2 separate regions of the Homo sapiens genome follow, and region 2 is linked to region 1. The links are contacts of gene promoters, found by promoter capture Hi-C in blood cells and fetal thymus (Javierre and others, 2016). All regions are on one chromosome and are shown on one strand. The core of a region is centred on a gene start or on the middle of the fragment in contact, and the rest is flanking DNA. Distances in the headings are between cores, read along the strand shown. Region 1 holds the start of PSMD10 (proteasome 26S subunit, non-ATPase 10). Region 2 holds the start of VSIG1 (V-set and immunoglobulin domain containing 1).

What was found. Contacts are between HindIII fragments. The CHiCAGO score rates a contact against its expected background, and 5 or more counts as called.
Region 2: the fragment with the promoter of VSIG1 here is called in contact with the fragment with the promoter of PSMD10 in region 1 in 4 of 17 cell types (neutrophils, activated CD4 T cells, total CD4 T cells and 1 more); the score reaches 9.8 in neutrophils.

The regions. Positions count from the first base shown.
Region 1 is chrX:108,087,964-108,095,109 of GRCh38, reverse strand. It overlaps PSMD10 (proteasome 26S subunit, non-ATPase 10), which reads left to right and starts at 3,568. Exons shown (of 5, transcript NM_002814.4): 1 at 3,568-3,703; 2 at 6,260-6,358; 3 at 7,011-7,146. The coding sequence starts at 3,590. It overlaps ATG4A (autophagy related 4A cysteine peptidase), which reads right to left and starts at 3,332. Exons shown (of 13, transcript NM_052936.5): 1 at 3,274-3,332. The coding sequence starts at 3,283. RefSeq lists enhancers at 3,130-3,369, 3,420-3,819. The HindIII fragment of the contact is 5,520 bases long and covers 926-6,445 here.
Region 2 is chrX:108,042,102-108,049,247 of GRCh38, reverse strand. VSIG1 (V-set and immunoglobulin domain containing 1) reads right to left here and starts at 4,183. Exons shown (of 7, transcript NM_182607.5): 1 at 4,069-4,183. The coding sequence starts at 4,117. The HindIII fragment of the contact is 8,448 bases long and covers 1-6,680 here.

The DNA.
Region 1 (7,146 bases), core at 2,319-4,818:
AACTTAGCCAGGCGTGGTGGCATGCGCCTCAGGAGGCTGAGGCAGGAGAATCGCTTGAGCCTGGGAGGCAAAGATAGCAGTGTGCCAAGATCGTGCCACTGCATTCCAGCCTGGGTGACAGAGTGAGACTCTGTCTCAAAATAAAATGAAATAAAAGTTAAAACAAGAAGCAAGATATCTATTTCCATAAGAATTTGCAGCATATATATTTTCTGAATTCAGACTACAGTTCCAGCAGCAGTTTTTGAACCCTGAAGCAAGTGCAAAGGATATTCCATATTCCAAAATCCCTTTAACTGTGCAATTGAGCAGCTTTCACCAAACTTTCAATTGGAAGTGATTAACCTGCCACATAATGCTAAAAGGCACTATTAAGAGAAGAACAGAATTCTATTCCACGCAATGAATATGCTCAATTAAAATCATGTTTGAGGATAGTGTATGATAAGAATGTGGTACTTGACCTCTGCAGACTTTCTTCCAAACACATAATGCCAGTCTAAGCATAAAATTGAGGGGTTTTCTACAAAATACCTGACCAGTACTCCTTAAAACTATCAAGGTCACCAAAACAAGAAAAGTGTGAGAAAGTGTCACAAACCAGAAGAGGCTAAGGAGATACAATGACTAAACGTAATGTGGTATCCTGGATGGGACAGCATCTCTAGAGATAAACTAGTGAAACTTGAAAAAAAAAAGCATGGGGTATAGTTAATAGCAATATACCACTGTGGGCTTATTAGTTGTGACATAGATAGCATAGCAATGTAAGACGTTAATGATAAGAGATTCAGCAAATGGTGCTAGGACAATTTCTACATCCACATGCAAAAAGATGAATTTAGACTCTCACCTCACATCACAGAGAAAAAATGAACTCAAAATGAATCATAGACTTAAATGTAAGAGATGAAGTAATAAAGCTTTTAGAAGAAAACATTGGAGAAAATCACTGAGACCTTGCAATTAGGCAAAGACTTCTTAAGTACAACACCAAAAGAATGGTCCATGAAAGAAAAAAAAATGATAAATTGAACCTCACCCAAATTCAAAACGTTTTCACTTCAAAAGACACCATCAAAAAAAGAAAAAGGCAAGCAACAGACTGGGAGAATATATGTGCATATCATATATCTCTCAGGGACTTGATCTAGAATATATAAACCATCCTTACAACTCAACACTAAAAAAACAAATAACTCAATTTAAAAACAGACAAAAGATATAACAGACACTTCACTGAAGAAGATATATGAATGGCTAATAAGCACATGAAAATATGCTCACCGTATTATAAATTATAATTTATAAATTAAAACCACAATGAGACACCACTTCACACCCACTTAGAATGGCTATAACAAAAAACACAGTAAATAACAAATGTTGGCAAGGATGTGGAGAAACAGGAACTCTCATACATTGCTAGTGGAAGTGCAAAATGTTGCTGCCATTTTGGAAAACAGTTTTGCAGTTTCTTAAGAAGTTAAGCATAAATTTTCCCTGTGATCCAGTAACTCCACCCTTAAGTATCTATCAAAGAGAAATGAAAAAAATATGTCCGCACGAAGACTTACATACTAATCTTCTTAGCAGCACTAGTCATAGTAGCCAAAAATTGGAAACTGATGTGCCTATCTAATAGTGAGTAGACAGATAAAAATGTGTTATATCCATAAAATGGAATACTATTCAGCAATAAAAAAGTAAGGAAGTACTGATACATACTACAATATGGATGAATCTCAAAAATATTATGCTAAGTGAAAGAAATCAGACACAAAGACTGCATATTGTATGATTTCATTTATATAAAATGTCCAGAATAGGCAAATTTATAGAAACAAAAAAGTAGATTAGTGGTTGTCTGGGGCTGGGAATGGGACAGAGGATTGATTAACTATAAATAGGCATGAGGGACCTTACTGGAGGGATCAAAAAGTTCTAAAACTGATTTATGGTGATGGTTGCCCCACTTCAGTAAAGTTACCAAAAATCATTTAATTATGCACTTGAAATCAGTGAATTTTATGATATGTAAAATGTGCCTCATTTTGAGTGAGTGTTATACAGGAACTCTACTAACCTTGCAACTTTTCTATAAATCTACAACTATTCTGAAATTTTTGAAAAATTAAATAAAAATAAAAATAAAAAAGTATATGTTTATGAATTGATATCAGTATTTGGCAGTACCTATCTATGTAAAATGACATTTTCAAAGATTAAATAGGTAAAAATTTCCTAACAGATCAGCATTAACAGATGAACACTTAAAATCAATTTTGACAATAGGGAACACTAATTCTGAGCCCCAATTAAGCAAAATATTATCCCCTAAAAAGAATTCTATTCTTCTCATTGGTAGTCTTCCTGTATTACAAAAAAAGTACTCAATTACTATTATATTTTGAATTTCATCAATAAAAATTTGTTGAAATTTGTTTTCTCTTTTGTCATAAAAGTACCAACAAAATATTCTTGATTTTGCCTTTTGGCCTACAAAGCCTAAAATATTTACTATCTGGCTCTTTACAGAAAGTTTCCCAACTCCTGTTCTACACTATAACAGGATAAACATAAACATCATGAGTCTCTTTCTTGAATGTATTCTTATCGTTACCTAGTTGTGGCATAATGTCCTCTGGATATGCCCTATAAAGGATCAGTCTTGCATTGCTTCTGCTATGGCACTATTTGGGATTTCTATAAAAAGAAACACTATTAGCTTAATAGTTGTAGCAAAGCCTTGACAACATAGTTAATATCGTGATATTAAAATGCCAACACCACAGCCCGGTATCCTTAAGATGACCCTCATCAAGCTGTGATGTCACCAGGCTATGGACTCACCGAGGTCTCTTAGATATCAGGTGGCTCCCACGGCATCACACCCTGCCTTTGGCATCACCCTGGCACATCACCTCAGTACGGTGCCATATGCTATCACTGCTGTGGTAGAACCCTGTCCTGATGCCACACCGCCGAGATGTCAGAGTAATTAACCCCCACTTCTTTCCACTCCCTAGGCGGTGGCAGGGAGGGGGAGGGTAGCCACAGTCACCGGTTCGAGCTCAGTAGGTAGTACTCAGCTCCAACCCTTGTCCCTTCCGCCTGCCACTGCAGGTCAGGAACCCCGGGGGACAGGACCTTTAGGCTCTCATAACTCTTGCCCTGCCCCCGAACCTGTTTCATATGGCCGACTCAACGACCCGCCAGCGACTACCCACCCCGGCTCTTTCACACGGTTCCACTCAAAGCCGCTCCCCGTACCTGACTCCATTCTCCAGCTGTCATCCTGGGCCAATTCCACCGGCAACTTGACTACGGACGGACGGTCGCTAGGATCCCTGGGACTTGTAGTTCTGCACTGCTAGGGGCCAAGTCTGTGAGGGCAGCAAAGGCGCCTCCCTGCCCGGAACTGCTCTCAAACTGCAACTCCCAGAGGCGCCGCGCGACGGGAAAAGAAAAGGGAACGAGGAAGGCCGGTGATTGGTGAAGCTCTAACGGCTGTTTTGACTGGCGTAGCCGGAGCCGGCGACGTGAGGCGGGCGTTGCTCGCGCGACAAGTAGTTGCTGGGACAGCGAAATGGAGGGGTGTGTGTCTAACCTAATGGTCTGCAACCTGGCCTACAGCGGGAAGCTGGAAGAGTTGAAGGAGAGTATTCTGGCCGATAAATCCCTGGCTACTAGAACTGACCAGGTAAAGCAACGCTAGGTCTCTCCGCAGTCGGCGACGTCGGCGAAGCCCTACGTGGCTTTCGGGGCCCGGCCCTAGCGGAGGCCCCGTTTCTGAGAGAAGCAGAACCCCGCCCCCGCCGCCCCAAGCAGTCCCCCTGGGTCACCTCGGGACTCGCGATAGGCCTGCGGGAGCTAGCCCCACAGACCTCAGATATTTTCCCGTTGGCCCGGAGCTCCGCTCCCTGATTTTTGGATAGTTCTAGAACGTCTACCGCATTTCTCAGAAACTCCCAATCAGTGAAAAGGAAGGCTTTTTATATGGATTTATTTACCTTTACTAGTAACTGTATTCAGTAACGCATGTGAAATTGAACGCCCCTTCCGTGCCAGGCAGTTTGCTAGGAGCTGGGGATACGGTGGAGTGGAAGATGCAGACAATAAAATAAGCACAAAAACATGTCCGATTACAAATTGTGGTAAATACTCGGCAGAGAAGTTTACATGGTGCTTTCAGAACACGTTAATAGGAGGATCTGATGCTGAATATGACTGTCGTTAATTGGAAAAGTTTTTGCAAAGAAGGGAAGGTTAGTTAGACTTTGAAGCATGAGTGGGATTTCCATGGGGGAATGAGTGGACATTCTAAGCAGAGGTAGACAGAAGTTTAGAAGTGTTTCTTTCTGCCCTCCTGCTCACAGGACTCTCGTGCTTTCATCCTCAGTTTCTAGGATTCATGGTGCCTTTAGTAAGCCCACAAATATTTATAGATGGCCTTGTGTTTCGCAGACAGTGTCGTAAGCACTAGTGAGACTGTCCCATACTTACAGATCTCCATTTTGTGTCTTTTGGGAGAGAATTAGAAATCAAGAGACTGTTTTCTCTTTTCTGGAACTTTCCTTTATTACTCAACCTGAAAATGGCCTTATCTTTACCTGGTTTACTTCATTATGGTCTGGTGATATTTAAGGATTTAAATTTAAATGTAATACTTTATATTAAGATTTAATACTCCATTGGAAATTTAACCATTCTTCAGTCAAGTCAGTGGCTTAAAAAGGGAAAGGAACTATTCAGCATCAAGAGACGTAAAAAACATGAAGAAATGCAATTTATGGATCTCGTCTGGTTCCTGATTTAAACAAACCAACTGCAAAAAGACATTTGGGAGACAGTTGGGGGCAATCTGAATACAGACCGGATATTAGACATTCTAAAGGAGTTAGTGTTAATTTTAGTAAGTGTAATAATGGTCTCATAGTTATATAAGAAATACCTTTATTTTTTACATACTGAAAGAGAAGGGTGAAAAGTCATGATATTTAGGATTTGTTTTTGGAAAGCTCAGCAAGGAAAAAACTAGTTAAAGCAAATAGGGCAAGATGTTTGTTGTTAAATCTAAGCAGTAGGCCTGTGGGTTTCTATTCTATTCCCTCTATTTTTGTGTTTGAAATTTTTTTGTAATAGAGTTTAAAATACCATTTTCTATTCTGTGGGGCTAAGAAGTATAGCAGTCACTGCAAATAGGGATTCCCTTTGACAAATAATGACTACTATAGCTTTTTTAATTTTTATTTATTTTTATTTATTTATTTTTTGAAACAGAGTTTCGCTCTTGTTGCCCAGGCTGGAGTGCAGTGGTGCCGTATCACCTCACTGCAACCTCTGCCTCCCGGGTTCAAGCGATTCCCCTGCCTCAGCCTCCCAAGTAGCTGGGATTACAGGCGCCTGCCACCACGCCTGGCTAACTTTTGTATTTTTAGTAGAGACGGAGTTTCACCATGTTGCCAGGCTGGTCTAGAACTCCTGACCTCGGGTGATCTGCCCACCTCAGCCTCCCAAAGTGCTGGGATTATAGGCGTGAACCACCGCACCCGGCCATAGCTTATTATTTTTTATAAAAAGTAATTTTCTTGTTTTCTGTGTGTTGTGTTTTCTAAATTATATTTCTAATTTATTTATGATTTTAAATTCTAGATAATTTCAACTAGTTTAATGAACATTTCTTCCCCCATTAGATTCATGTGTTCCTTCTACAGCATCTAACTTGAGGTCAGTGTGGTAGTAGAGATTTCAGAGTCAGAACTTCACTGACAGTTGTGCCCCAACTTCACCATTTAGTATCCATATGACCGTCCACAAGTTGCTTACCCTGAGGAGTTTTAGTTTCCTCATCTGAAAAATGGAGATAATAAGCACTGTGTAGAATGGTAGGAATTAAATGATACTATACATGTAAAACTCCCAGCACAGTGCCTGACATAAAAGTACGTAAATAATGTAATAGTAAAACAACCAAAGATGTATTTCTGTCAAAGCATTGAAATCAGTTTCTTGCTCTACTACTTTCCTTGTCGTATTCTGCCCAGAATTACGTATGTTCATCAATGTCATTCTCCCCATGTTACTTAAACCTTCATCTGTCTTATACCAGTAAGTAATATAGTTTAAGGTTACCTACCTGAGGATCCAGTGCTCTGCATTTCGTATTTTCAAACTATAGATTTGCCAGCACCAGTATTTTTTTTCTTGCTTTTTTGCCTTCTATTTCAAGAATGTTTCTATTACTGCTTCTCTGTAGGACAGCAGAACTGCATTGCACTGGGCATGCTCAGCTGGACATACAGAAATTGTTGAATTTTTGTTGCAACTTGGAGTGCCAGTGAATGATAAAGACGATGTGAGTACTTTGATAAAGTTGAGTTGATAAATTCCCAGTTATCTTTGTACTCCAGACTGGTGTTTACTGAAGCCTGTGCATTAAGCTTATAAAGAAAATTGTAACCTTTATGACTGGAAAGTTACATCATGGCCCTTGTGATCAAGCATGAGACTCATGGTTGCATTATTTTACAATGTTATGTTTGCCACTCATACTCTGTGATTTAAGGTAAACATACAGGAGAGGCTGAGGTAGGAGGATTGCTCCAGCCTAGTAGTTTGAGGCTGCAGTGAGCCATTGTACTCTATCCTGGGTGACAGACTGAGACCTTGTCTCTAAAAATAAAAAAACAAAAATAAACATACAGATCAGGGCTTGTTATGGTGAACCCTAAAAGACCATAAACTCTTTCTATTATGTTGGATTTTTTGTTTTTTGGTGAACATGGCCTGAATAATGAGGACCTAAATAACTTTTTTGTTACATAAAGAGATTTATTCTAATGATATGGTTATATTAGGATTAGATTTGTGAAGAGTAAGAATGGAACCTTTTTTGTAGGCAAATATTTTTTTGCCTTTGTAAAGCTCCTTGCTAACCCTTCCTAAATGTTAGCACTAATCCTTGTGCCTTTTTCCCCTGGTATTTCTACTACCTACTTCTTTTATAGGCAGGTTGGTCTCCTCTTCATATTGCGGCTTCTGCTGGCCGGGATGAGATTGTAAAAGCCCTTCTGGGAAAAGGTGCTCAAGTGAATGCTGTCAATCAAAATGGCTGTACTCCCTTACATTATGCAGCTTCGAAAA
Region 2 (7,146 bases), core at 2,934-5,433, 46 kb after region 1:
TGTGTAACTAATTAGAAATCTGCAAAAGTTTAATAATATCACCTTGGAATTAGGATGGTAATTTCAAATTTTAAAGTGAGACAATATTTTTTGAGGTACTACACATTGTCATGTAAATAAGTAACAGTTGGCAAAGCAAAACCTCCAGGCCATTTTATTGCCCAGATTCCCAATTCTTAGCACCATAACCAATTAAATTCTGAAGAAAAGATGTTTTTCAGACATTGTCCAACCATGATATAGTGATGATATGCTTCAGAGCTAAAAGTTATATATTTCCAGATGAGCCTTTTTAAAATGTCACATCATTCAATTAGTGCACATTACTTAAAACCTCTGAGCTCACCCTTACAGTGCTGTCCAACAGAACTTCCTGTGATGATGGAAATGTTCTATCTCTGCGCCATCCAGTTCAGTAGCCCAAATAGAATTATCAAACACTTGAAATGTGGCTAGTGAAACTGAGGAACTGACTTTATAATTTTCATTAATCTGAAGTGATTTAAATTTCAATAGCCACATGTAGACAATGGGCAGTGCAAACTTAGTCCTAAAGTGGAGGTGATTCTCTGAGTGTCAGGGAAAAAAGTTCCCTTCCTTTGGATTAAGTCATTCTAAGTTGAGAAATTATTTAAAAATTGAATAAGTCAGAAAAATCTCTACATCAATAGGACTGTGAATAAATAGCAAAGTAAAGATTAGTATCTGATTTAAACAAAACCCAAGAACGCAATGTCCCTCTCTGACTTGACCAAATTTAAAAACAAAACAAAAATGCATATGTGGTTGAAATATGTGTAATCTCTTTTAAAAACCAGTGCTTACCTGCACGTTGTGCACATGTATCCTAAAACTTAAAGTATAATAATAATTAAAAAAGTGCTTATTATTAAAGAAAAATAATCCAAGATGTACACACTTAATCAACATTTAAAAATATTTTTAGGCTGGGCGCAGTGGCTCACGCCTGTAATCCCAACACTTTGGGAGGCTGAGGTGGGCGGGTCGCCTGAGGTTGGGAGTTCAAGACCAGCCTGACCAACATGGAGAAACCCTGTCTCTACCAAAAATACAAAATTAGCCGGGCGTGGTGGTGCATGCCTGTAATCCCAGCTACTCAGGAGGCTGAGGCAGTAGAATCACTTGAACCCGGAAGGCGGAAGTTGCGGTGGGCCGAGATCGTGCCATTGCACTCCAGCCTGGGCAACAAGACTTAACTTCGTCTCAAAAGAATATATATATGTGTATATATATATATATATATATATATATATATATATATATATGTGTGTGTATATATATATATATATGTGTATATATATATATGTGTATATATATATGTGTATATATATATATGTGTGTATATATATATATGTGTATATATATATGTGTATATATATATGTATATATATATGTGTATATATATGTATATATATATGTATATATATATATATATAGAGAGAGAGAGAGAGAGAGAGAGAGAATGTCTTGTATTTTGGTGGTGATTGTTCATTCATTTAATGCCTACAAGGTGGCAAACATTTTGCTTATAGAAGGATTATTATCCTCCTAATGTACCACAGCAAAATATCCCCCAAATATTCATATTTAATCTGATAGATTTGAAGTGATTTAATTTCCAGCAACTTCATATATAATAGATTCATTTTGACTTAGGAAATAATATAATCAAATGATCACTCACTTTTTTGGATTTGAGTGCAAACTCAAAGTTCAAATATATTACTCCTTTAAAATGCATAGCATATACCTCCAGAAAATGAAACCCACATTAACATATCTTTCTAAGAGGTGACTAATACATATTTCAAATACCTAAAATGATATGCATAAATTTTTTGCAGAAGTTTGATTAAAACTCGTTTTCCTGAATTAGAATTTAACCTAAGAATTCCTAAGAAGTCATTGAAAATATTTTGATTTAAGCAAAATCTGACCTGTTTAGTTATATCAAAATCAATTTTAAATATGTATGTGAAAATGATGTCTGGATGTTTGGAATTTGGGAAAGTAATTCATTCTTTCAACAAACATTTACTATGCATCCACTATGTGTTAGGCACCACGCTTAACACCAAAAAGTGACATTCTCTCCAAAACAAGTCCAGGAAGAACATCAAATTGCACATTGATGGAAACACTATCAGTTGTCCAGATCAACTGATGAACACTGCTAATGACAGGTGTAGATTACTAAAGTGATCCTTTCTCTGACTTCAATACATATGTAAGCACAGCAAACGACAATAGAGCATACCACAATTTGCTGTACTGACACTACTGCTTTGGGCCAACTAGATAATATGTGTGTAGATATATAGTGTACACTATATACCAACAAAATCAGTTATATAGTAACTTAGGAAACACACTCTGAAGTATTTATTGGTCTTGTTCTAAAAGTCACAATAAAATAAAATCCTGACATGATGCTAAACAATTTTTTTAAACAATAAAAAAGTATACAAGGAATAAACCCAATTTTTAAAATGTAATATATACACCTGCAAATAAAAGAATAATAATTCACCCAAATCTGAGTGGTAAAATTGCAGATGATTTTTATTTTATTTTAAATTTCCATATTTCCAACCTTTCTACAATGACCATGCATTACATTTATAATCAGTAAAAATTACTTGTATGTTAGGTACAGTTAAAAAAAAAAAAAACTGTTCTTAACAACCGTTCCAAACCCTGTGCCTAGTATGGGCCAGGGCAAGGCTTCACATAGGGAAACAGGTATGATCTTAGAGGGCTGATGCAGAAGGCCCAGGGGTCGACCCAACTGGCTAATGACTGGAAACCCTTTAAGAAGAGACAAAACTTCCATATCTAAAGTTACATTTAAATGAATATGCCTGGGGAGAAGGGAAAATAGGAACATGTGTTTCCAGCTCTAGGGCCTAGTTAGGTCACTGGACAAATGGAGTATTGCCTTCTGGTGATGTTTAACTCCATAAAACATCTATGCTTAAACATTTAGTAATGAACATTTAAAGAACTATTTCTAAACATGAGATCACTTTGAAAAGTAACACTTTTTTCTAATTATAAAAATAGCATAATGTTCTTCGTAGAAAACCCAGGAAGTATGAAAAGCTGGGAAATAAAATTAAAATCATCTATAATCCCATCACCCAGAGGCAACCACCATGAGCACTTCGGTATATAACCTTCTAGTAATTTATTCTAGGCATATGTGTGCATCCTGCTTTTTCACTTAATATTTTATCGTGGGTATTTTCTTATGTCATTAATACGCCTAGTAAACCTCATTCTAACCACTGCCTAATATTACTAATGGCTTGAAAATCCTGTTTTTGGATAAACAATATTATTGTATTTACTATGGACCTAACTTATAAGAACAGATGCAAAATGTATCTGATATTTGAAAACTACCCAAGGGATTTTTGGAATTAATGATCTCTCCTGGATCTAACTAACATCAGTATTTTGATTCCAAAATTGATTTTCTTCTGTTCAGATACCTAAAATCACCCATGTTGTGCACCATAAATCACTCACATATTTTGCAAAATACAGTCTTAGGATTGGAAAACCACAACTCCTTAAGAAATATTAGACAGTAAAGTACTCAGTAAATTTCTGTTCTTCCCATATGTAAGCCAGGGCAGGCCCTCCAACCCAGGCTCTGCCTGCTAGAGCAAGTCAATCACTGAGCTTAAAGGAAACACTAAAGTAAGTAAAACAGAGACAAAATTATCCCTAGCACAAAGTTTGGTTTCTGAGTAAATTCATTTTTTTCACTTTTCAAAGTAAGTAAAGTAATAAACTATATTTTTTTCTGAGAAAATTTTCATTCAGAAGCTCCATAAAACAATAATATTATGGGCTTACACCCCTAATATATCAGCATGGCATATGTTTGCTAAGCAAGAGTTCTGAAAATTAACTCATCATACTAATCACAATTCATTTGAAGTACAGGAGATGAAAATTCTATGTAAAAATGTGGAATTTTTATTTAAAAGGAAACTCTGTTTCCAATTATATTTGGTGGTTTGGAGATCCTTTCCTTACCTGCAAGGCAGCTTAGGATCAGAAAGACCTTCCAAAATGCGAACACCATTGTGTGGAGGTTAGTTGAGAGCAGCAGGTGCCAGTAGCTTGCCTGGACTAGGCTGAGTCTCAAATTGGCTTCTTCGATCACACCGAGGTTTGCCTGGCTTATCTGCTGGGCATCGCCAAGCAAACATGCCTCTTTGGGCTTACTTATTGCGTATAGACTTTTTTCAGTACAGATTTGTGTTTCTTTGAAACACTTTTCATGGGGCGTGTTTCCTTGATATATTTGCTACTGTGTTAATAATAAACCCACGCATTTAAATTATTCAAGCTCCTTGTACACAGATTCTCTAAGTCTCATTGTTTAAAATCAATCTTACTAAAACGTTGTACTTGGGCTGGGGGATATGGTTGGAAGAGAGCCTATGCAAATAAAAGCTGACAAGGCTAATTAATTTCAAATATTTCCATGAGTCTTACAGAATTGATTCACTAACCTCCTTTTACAAATTAAGTTAGTAAATTGGTACTATATCGTTTCCTGGGGAGATGGGGCTCACGGGAAGGGCACAGGGGTTATGAAGCTAAAAAGCATTCATTTCTGTGTGAACAAACTCTGGATATGTTACTCTTTTTTGAAACACTGGCAGTTGTCACTACCCTCCACCAAAACTAGCAGTAAAATGATTTACATGCTTTTGTCTGTCGGGTTAGAAACCTTATAGCACGTATTTGCTAACGTAATTTTGCAAAATCAAGTTAGTGAATACATGCTTAAAGACTTTCTTTGGAGAAGTCTGATTTTTTGGAGAATTAAGATACTCAGTAAATGCTATAGGGTTTCCTTAGAAATGGAGGTTCACCAGGAGGGCATGGGAGGCTCCACAGGTAAGGAACTTTCATGGGAACATGAACTTCTAATAGTGTTCCTATTATGCTTAAGTTACCCGGAGAAACCTAAGGACTTTCTCTGGCTCTTCCCATGTGATTTCTAAGTCCTATCATTTCCATCTCCACAGCGACTTTCAGATGTGTTCTTTCTCCAATCTGCTGCTTCCATCTTGGTCCAGGTACTCAGCTTCCCACTTTGGCCTATCATAGCAGCTTCCTAAGTGGTCTCCCTGACTTATTCCACCTTCATCCTGTGTGCCAGCCGCAGGCCAATGTTCCAGCCCTAGTGAAATATTTCCAGTAACACCATAAATGGACTCTTTCATCAAATCCAAAGTCCTTAATATGGATTCCCATTCTTCCAATATCTGATCCTCACCTCATCTGAACTTTAGCCACATTAACTCATGCCCCTGAAAAAGTATGTCAAGATTTATTGCCTCAAAGTGTTCAGTCACATGAAATGTGTACAAATTTCAAGTGATATGTTTTATGTTCCTGTCTTTAATTTACAGGAAATGTTTGACCCCATCTTACTTTAGCCATTCCAATCTCCCACTGCTTCTTAGAAAGCCATTTTGCTTCCATCATGCCTGATTCCTCCTTGCAGCCTATCCTGTCCATGCTCATGTCTGATGCCAAACGTTGGCTCCAGGTGATTTCCATCACTAGAGTTTTCTTCTTCCTCCTCTTACTAGCCAAGTATATTCTTAGCATAGATCAGTCATACTGTCCTATGTGAGAATTTCAATGAACCGACATACCACCCTAGCATAAATTTCCATTTTACTTAAAGCCAATATCCTACAGCTGACCATTGATTATTCTCCAGTAGTTTCGCATTTATTAACTGGTCTACCTTAAATCTAGTCACTGTGAATCCCTCCAGGGTAGGGACCATGTCTTATACAGGCAGTTCCCAACTTTAAAATGAGCGTGTCCCAAGATGTAATGGTAAACTCGTTGACTGCACGCAAGAACTCCTGCAGAAGCAATGTTATAATATGAGTCTCACTGTCAGGCATGTAGCACATAATCTAGCACTGGCTTGAATTCTGCGTACTGGGCCGTATAAGGCAGTGGAGGGTGAGGAGGAACAGCAGGTGACAGAGAAAGAACGTTCCTTTCATTTCCCAAGATATGACTTGTGCACAAATCAACATTTTCCCCCAAATAACTATTGCATGTCTCTGACATCCACCTTCTCTTCTGCCTCCCACCTTCACGGCCCCCTGGCTCCTGGGTCCCTAGTTTGCCCTAAGGGAGAGTCTCATTCCCCAGAATATCTCATGCTCCAAAATTACTTTTTCCTTTTCACCTCTATTCCTCCCAGAAACCCTCCCTTTCCCCTGTATAAGCAGACAGCAGCTCCATGTTAGGAAGGGAAAAAAAAACGTTTCATTGAACATTCTCCAACCTGTTTGTGCTATTAAAAATACAGTGCTTACTTTCCTCACATAAATCTCTGACCAGGAGAATTAGGCAATGCAATAAAGAGAAATAGTTTGAGGGAGAAGATTTTGCAAAGGAGGACAACTTGTAGGGTGGGTCTCTGGAGATCCATACCACCTTTTCTCAGGCTTGGTTCTGCCTTGACTTCTAAGTCCACCAAGTCTCTAAAAGACCCATAGTTTTCACAATGCCCCCCACCCTGGAAGTAATACCGGTAGTTCCAGTGGTGAGGACGTGGGATGGGGAGCGAAATTTATAAGTCTGGCATTTGTAAGCCAGAAGCTTCCTGTGTTTCCTTCCATGCCCCATAAGTGATTATAGTAGTGTGACCATTGATCATTAAAACTAGGACACTTTTGAAAGTGAAAGGGGCACTATTAGCAATTACCTGGGAAAGACAGCATAAACAGTAACAGTGCCAGACAAACCTGGGTGTCTGGTTACCTACCCACAGGGGATTACTAGGCACAAAGTAGGTGCTAAGTAAGAGCTTGCTAATTAATTCAGTATGTCTGAGTTGGTTGGCCCTAAGATGAGTGCAGCAGAGGGTATGATTTAAGGATATTGCCCAAACCCATCTGCACCAAAATCTGTTGTGCAAACACAAAACACTCTGGAATATTTAAGTAAAATATCTATACTGCTGCTATGTAAGACCTAACCAGGACAGGAAGAATTCTGTTATAACAAACTCTAAAAGAGAATTTAAACTCTCTGCTTGGACCTGGATTTTGATGTTATTAACTATTG